Regions from separate parts of the Homo sapiens genome. Here region 2 is linked to region 1. Evidence: promoter capture Hi-C in 16 types of primary human blood cells and fetal thymus (Javierre and others, 2016). All regions are on one chromosome and are shown on one strand. Each heading gives the region's core, a stretch centred on a gene start or on the middle of the fragment in contact. The rest is flanking DNA. Distances are from core to core; before and after follow the strand shown.

Region 1 (2,891 bases), core at 248-2,747:
AAAGTGTTGGGATTATAGGCATGAGCCACTGCACCCAGCAATTTATTTATTTTTTATTTTTTATTTTTTTTGAGACAGAGTCTCACTCCTGTTGCCCAGGCTGGAGTGCAATGGCATGATCTCGACTCATCGCAACCTCCACCTCCAGGGTTCAAGTAATTCTCCTACCTCAGCCTCCCGAGTAGCTGGAATTGGAGGCATGCAGCACCATGCCTGGAAAATTTTGTACTTTCAGTAGAGACACGGTTTCTCCATGTTGGCCAGGCTGGTCTCGAACTCCCGACCTCAGGTGATCCACCTGCCTTGGCCTCCCAAAGTGCTGGGATTACAGGTGTGAGCCACCATGTCTGGCCTTTATTTTTATTTTTTGTGGGTATATAGTAGTGTATATATTTGTAGATTACATTAGATATTTTGATGTAGCCATGCCATATGTGATAATCACATAGGGTAAATGGGGTCTCAGTCACCTCAACATTTATCCTCTGTATTATAAACAGTCCAGTTATACTCTTTTAGTTATTTTTAAATATATAATTAAATTATTTTGACTATAGCCACCCTGTTATGGTAGCAAATATTAGGTCTTATTCATTTTTGCTCACTGTTTTTTGTACCCATCCTGTCATCATGTCTTATGGAGAATTTTCTTTTGTTCCCAACAAAACAATGAAACTCGCAAAACTGACTGTAATGATTCAGTCTACGTGAATTTAAAGAGCAATCAATACTTAATGTTCTCAGCTCTGAGTGCACACATTGTAAGTCTGAATGATGCCAATGATATGGCCACTTAGATAAGTAAAGTTTGGGAGCATCTCAAATAGTATTTTTATTCTCTGGGTGCAGGATGAGCTTCCTAGAGTCTGATGTGATACCTATTTGATGCTTTTACAAAGAATCAATAATCTTCCTCCTTTGAGGTGTGAGCAGGGCTTTCCAGCAGCCCTCAGAATGTAACATGGTCTGCATTCGGTTTGCTCTTGGAGGATACCACCATTGTTGGCTGAGAGCTCTGGGAAGTACTTTACCCAGAAGGCGCTAGTTGCAAGGCCCAGGATGAGGGATTTCTGGGCATGCTTGTCAGGCCAGGGAGTACTGGGTTGGGACTGAGAAGGCACAAGAGGAGTAGTCATCTCTGCTCCCAAGTGGCAGGTCTGAGGCTCATAGGCACTGGCTGGGGTGATGCCTGCTCCACCCACAGTTGATGGCAGCAGCCACACTGAGGGACCTAGCTCAGGTAAATGCTGTGTATTACAGGCTTCACCCCAGCTAGAGTAATACAGGTAGAGGAACCAATAGGTACAAAGGCTTGGAGGTGCATCTGAGCCATGAACATTTCAGAACCTGGTAACCATGTTGTGTCATGGAAAGTGGGGAACTACATTACCCAGAAAGCTCTGCTTTAAACGACAGCCGGTCAGAGCCAGTGAGCACTCGGAAAGAAGGCATTTCCACGTGTGCACGTAACGTAAGGCCGAGACTTCCGGGGTCTCTAGTAGCGGCTGTGTATCGGCGATGCGGGTGTTTCCCCAGTTTGTGGCCCCTGAGTGCTGGGTGGGACCGCGGTGACTGAACCTAGAAGGTGGAGAGGAATCGTCCTCGGTGCCCAGAGGCGGCTCTGCAGCCCCGTGACGGCGACCACTGCTCCCGGGCCGTGCTTCCCCAAGTAGTCCGATGGCAGCGGCTGTGCCGAGGCGCCCAACTCAGGTAATTGTGGTGCCTTCTGTGCCCTCAGGTCACCCCATCGTCACCCAGGTCCTAAACCAGCGAGGGAGCGGCTCCTGCTCGTGGGTCTGTAGCCGGTACCCGGCGTAGGAACACTGAGGCGCTCACAGGAGGCCTCTCCTTGTAACCGTCCAGTGGGTTCACGTTGCCAGCTGCCTAGACAGAGCCGATTTATGAAGACTGGGGAATTGCGATGGAGAAATAGTAATTCACGCAGAGCCGTCCTGCTGTTCGGGAGACAGGAGTTTTATTATTCAAATCAGTCTCCCTGAGCATTCTGGGATCAGAGTTTTCAAAATTTGGCGGGTAGGGGCTTGGGAAGTGGGGAGTGCTGATCAGTCTGGTTGGAGATGGATTCATAGGGGGTTAAAGTGAGTTTTTCATGCTGTTTTCTGTTCTGGGTGGGATGGCAGAACTGATTGACCCAGATTACCGGTCTGTGTGTTGTCCGCTGATCCATCCAGTGCAGGATCTGCAAAATGCCCCAAGCACTGATCTTAGATATTGGGGAAACCAGCCCCACACCACCCAGCAGATACCCCGAGTCCTGCGGAGACAAAGGAGTTAGAAAGAGACAGAATACGCATTTAAAAGGCGGGTCCAGGTGGCCAGAGCATTGGAGGCTTCCTGGCGGCCCAGAGCTCTTGGGCTCCACCCAGTTTATTGGTTTACAAGCTCTTTGTTCTTATGGCTGATTGGAGGGGGAGGAAGCGATCAGGAAAAGGATTAATCAGTAAAGGAGAACTCGTGAGTCATTCCATAAGATGTAAAGCACTGGCCGTTTCTGTGAATTTCCTTGAACAAAGGCGTGTGTCTAAACTACTTAAGATCTTTAACTTAACTGAAACGGGTGGCTGCGGGTTTCAGGAGGAGCCAAGATGTTTGATTATGCTCCACTGCTTCAAGGGAGTGTGATCTCCCTGAGCAACCCATGGAATGCTGCTGAAGAGTTATGCTCTCGGGGCATAAAGACATGAAGGCAATAAGGAGACTTTTCTCCTCAGAGGCCGCCCATGGCTTCCCATGGGTGTCTCACACAGGGGAGACCAACTCAACTAGCACCCCAGAAACTCACATTAGGTTTTACAATAGTAAGGTTATCTTCAGGAGCAACTTGGGGAGGTTCAGACTCTTGGAGCCAGAAGCTGCATGACCCCTAAACC
Region 2 (2,891 bases), core at 100-2,599, 430 kb before region 1:
CTCACAGAGAACTTACCATGAATGAAGCTTACAGTACTGCAAGTTGCTCTAGGTGAGTCAGTGAGTGGTAAGTGAATGTGAAGGCCTAGGTTGTTACTGTGCTGTAGACTTTATAGACATTGTGTACTTAGACGACAATACATTTTTATTTTTATTATTATTTTTGAGACAGAATCTTGCTCTGTTGCCCAGACTAGAGTGCAGTGGTGCAATCTTGGCTTCCTGCAACCTCCTCCACCTCCTGGTTCAAGCAGTTCTGCCTCAGCTTCCCAAGTGTCTGGGATTACAGGCATGCACCACCATGCCCCGCTAATTTTTGTATTTTTAGTAGAGAACGGGGTCTTACCATGTTGGCCAGGCTGGTCTCAAACTCCCGACCTCAAGTGAGCCACTCGCTTTGGCCTCCCAAAGTGCTGGGATTACAGGCATGAGCCACCGTGCCCGGCTGGACAAAATTAAATTTATAGAAATTTTTCTTTAATATATTAACCTTAGCTGACCATTTTTTACTTTATAAGCTTGTATTTTTAAAAACTTTTTGACTTTTGTAATAATGTTTTGCTTAAAACATTGTACAACTGTACAAAAATATTTTTTATATCCTAACTTCTTAAATTTTTTTTGTTAAAAACTAAGATACACACATTTGTCTAGGCCGGCACAGGATCAGGATAATGTCATTTTATTCCACCTTCACAACCTGTTCCAGAAGATCTTCTGGGACAGTAACACACATGGAGCTGTCATCTAAAATAACAATGCCTTTTTCTGGAATACCTCCTGAAGGACCTGCCCGAGGCTGTGTTACAGTTTGTGTGTATGTACACCTGTATATTTATAGACATACACACAACTCCATATATACTCTACTGTTGGAGAACACCTAATGATAAAAAGTGTAGTATGCTAAGAACATAAGCTAGTAACTCGTAAGTTTTATCTACTGTACATTATTGTATATGTTATACTTCTATATGACTGGCCTCACAGTAGGTTTGTTTATACCAGCATCACCATGAATATGTGATTAATATATTGCCTTACTACTGCTATCATGTCATTAGGCAATAAGCATTTTTCAGCTTCATTGTAATTTTATGGAACCACTGTCATGAATGTGGCCCATTGTTGACTGAAAAGTGAGGTGCATGATTATATATGTATGTGCCACTTTTCCTTTCATTAGTGGACATTTGGGTTGTTTCCACTCAGCTGTTGTTAATAGCAGATGAGCATGAATGTACAAATGTTTCTTTGAGGCTGTGCTTTAAATTCCTTTTGAGGATTTACTCAGAAGTAGAATTGGTGCTTTCTATGTTTTTTTTTTGTTTGTTTGTTTGTTTGTTTGTTTTTTGAGACGGGAGTCTCGCTCTGTCGCCAGGCTGGAGTACAGTGGCCTGATCTCAGCTCACTGCAGCCTCTGCCTCCGGGGTTCAAGCAGTTCTCCTGCCTCAGCCTCCCAAGTAGCTGGGACTACAGGCATGCACCACCATGCCCAGATAATTTTTGTATGTTTAGTTGAGACGGGGTTTCACCGTGTTGGCAAGGATGGTCTCAATCTCGACCTCATGATCCACTCACCTGTCCCCCTATGTTCATTTAAAAAATATTTTTAATTTTTTAAATTTCTGACTCACAATGTTCCCATTCTATGTTAATTCTGTTTTAAAATTTTTGAGGACTCTTCTATAGCAGCTGCATCATTTTTTAATTTAACTTTATTATTAATTTTTTTTTTTAGTAGTTTTACTGGGTTGAGTTTTTTTTTTTTCTTTAGGGTTATTTGGTTTTGAGATGTAGGAGTTTTTTAGTATATGTGGGGACTTCAGAAAGTTTGTGGAAACATGAAAGTAAAGGATACAAAAAGAAAACAAGTTTTATTTCTCAACATAAGCTCCATCAAGTTCAAGACAATTTTATAAGTGATGATACCAGGCATTTAGTCCATCCCTAAAGAAGTGAGGTTCCTGGGAATTTAACCTTGTCTATGCAATCTTTTTTAATATTAACTAAAGAAAAATGGGTGCCCTTTAAAGATTTTTTAAAAGTAGGAAACAAGAAGTCAGAAGGAGCCAAATCCGGACTGTAAGGTGGATGCCTTAGGGTTATCAGAATTCTTGTAAAGTTGCAGTTATTTGATGAGAGGAATGAGCAGGAGCATTGAAGTGAAGGACTCCTGGTGAAGCTTTCCCATGGGTTTTCTGCTAAAGCTTTAGCTAACTTTCTCAAAACACTCTCATTGCGGGCGCCGTGGCTCACGTCTGTAATCCCAGCAATTTGGGAGGCCGAGTTGGGCGGATCATCTGAGCTCAGGAGTTTGAGACCAGCCTGACCAACATGGAGAAACCCCCCTCTCTACTAAAAAATACAAAAATTAGCCTGGCGAGGTGGTGCATGCCTGTAATCCCAGCTACTCAGGAGGCTGAGGCAGGAGAATCGCTTGAACCCGGGAGGCGGAGGTGGCAGTGAGCCGAGATCACACCATTGCACTCCAGCCTGGGCAACAAGAGTGAAACTCCATCTCAAATAGTAATTAATAATAAAGCCATGTTTCATCTGTACAATTCTTCAAAGAAATGCTTCAGCATCTTGATCCTACTTGTTTAACATTTACATTGAAGGTTCTGCTCTTGTCTGCAGCTGATCTGGATTCAGTGGCTTTGGCACCCATTGAGTGGAAAGTTCGCACAACTTTAATTTTTCAGTCAGAATTGTGTAAGCTGAACCAATTCAGATGTCTGTGGTGTCAGTTACTGTTTCTGCTGTTAATCATCAGTCTTCTTCAATAAGGTCATGAGCAAGATGAATTTCTTCCTCGCAAATTGTTATTAATGGTTTGCCATTGTGGGCTGCGTGGTCAACATCATCTCATCTCTTCTTAAAACGTTATC

The links. The method cuts DNA at HindIII sites, captures the fragments that hold promoters and counts their contacts. A CHiCAGO score of 5 or more calls a contact.
Region 2: a fragment that was not itself captured here is called in contact with the fragment with the promoter of ZNF587 in region 1 in 2 of 17 cell types (naive CD8 T cells and erythroblasts); the score reaches 5.7 in naive CD8 T cells.

What each region holds. Positions count from the first base shown.
Region 1 is chr19:57,848,362-57,851,252 of GRCh38, forward strand. ZNF587 (zinc finger protein 587) reads left to right here and starts at 1,498. Exons shown (of 3, transcript NM_032828.4): 1 at 1,498-1,710. The coding sequence starts at 1,678. LOC124904782 (a long non-coding RNA gene) reads right to left here. Exons shown (of 2, transcript XR_007067358.1): 2 at 1,954-2,200. RefSeq lists enhancers at 1,096-1,205, 1,276-1,335, 1,506-1,745, 1,796-1,885, 1,940-2,891. The HindIII fragment of the contact is 27,837 bases long and covers 1-2,891 here.
Region 2 is chr19:57,422,178-57,425,068 of GRCh38, forward strand. No RefSeq gene overlaps it. Among named protein-coding and RNA genes, the nearest start is that of ZNF749, 12 kb to the right of the region's middle. The HindIII fragment of the contact is 1,667 bases long and covers 517-2,183 here.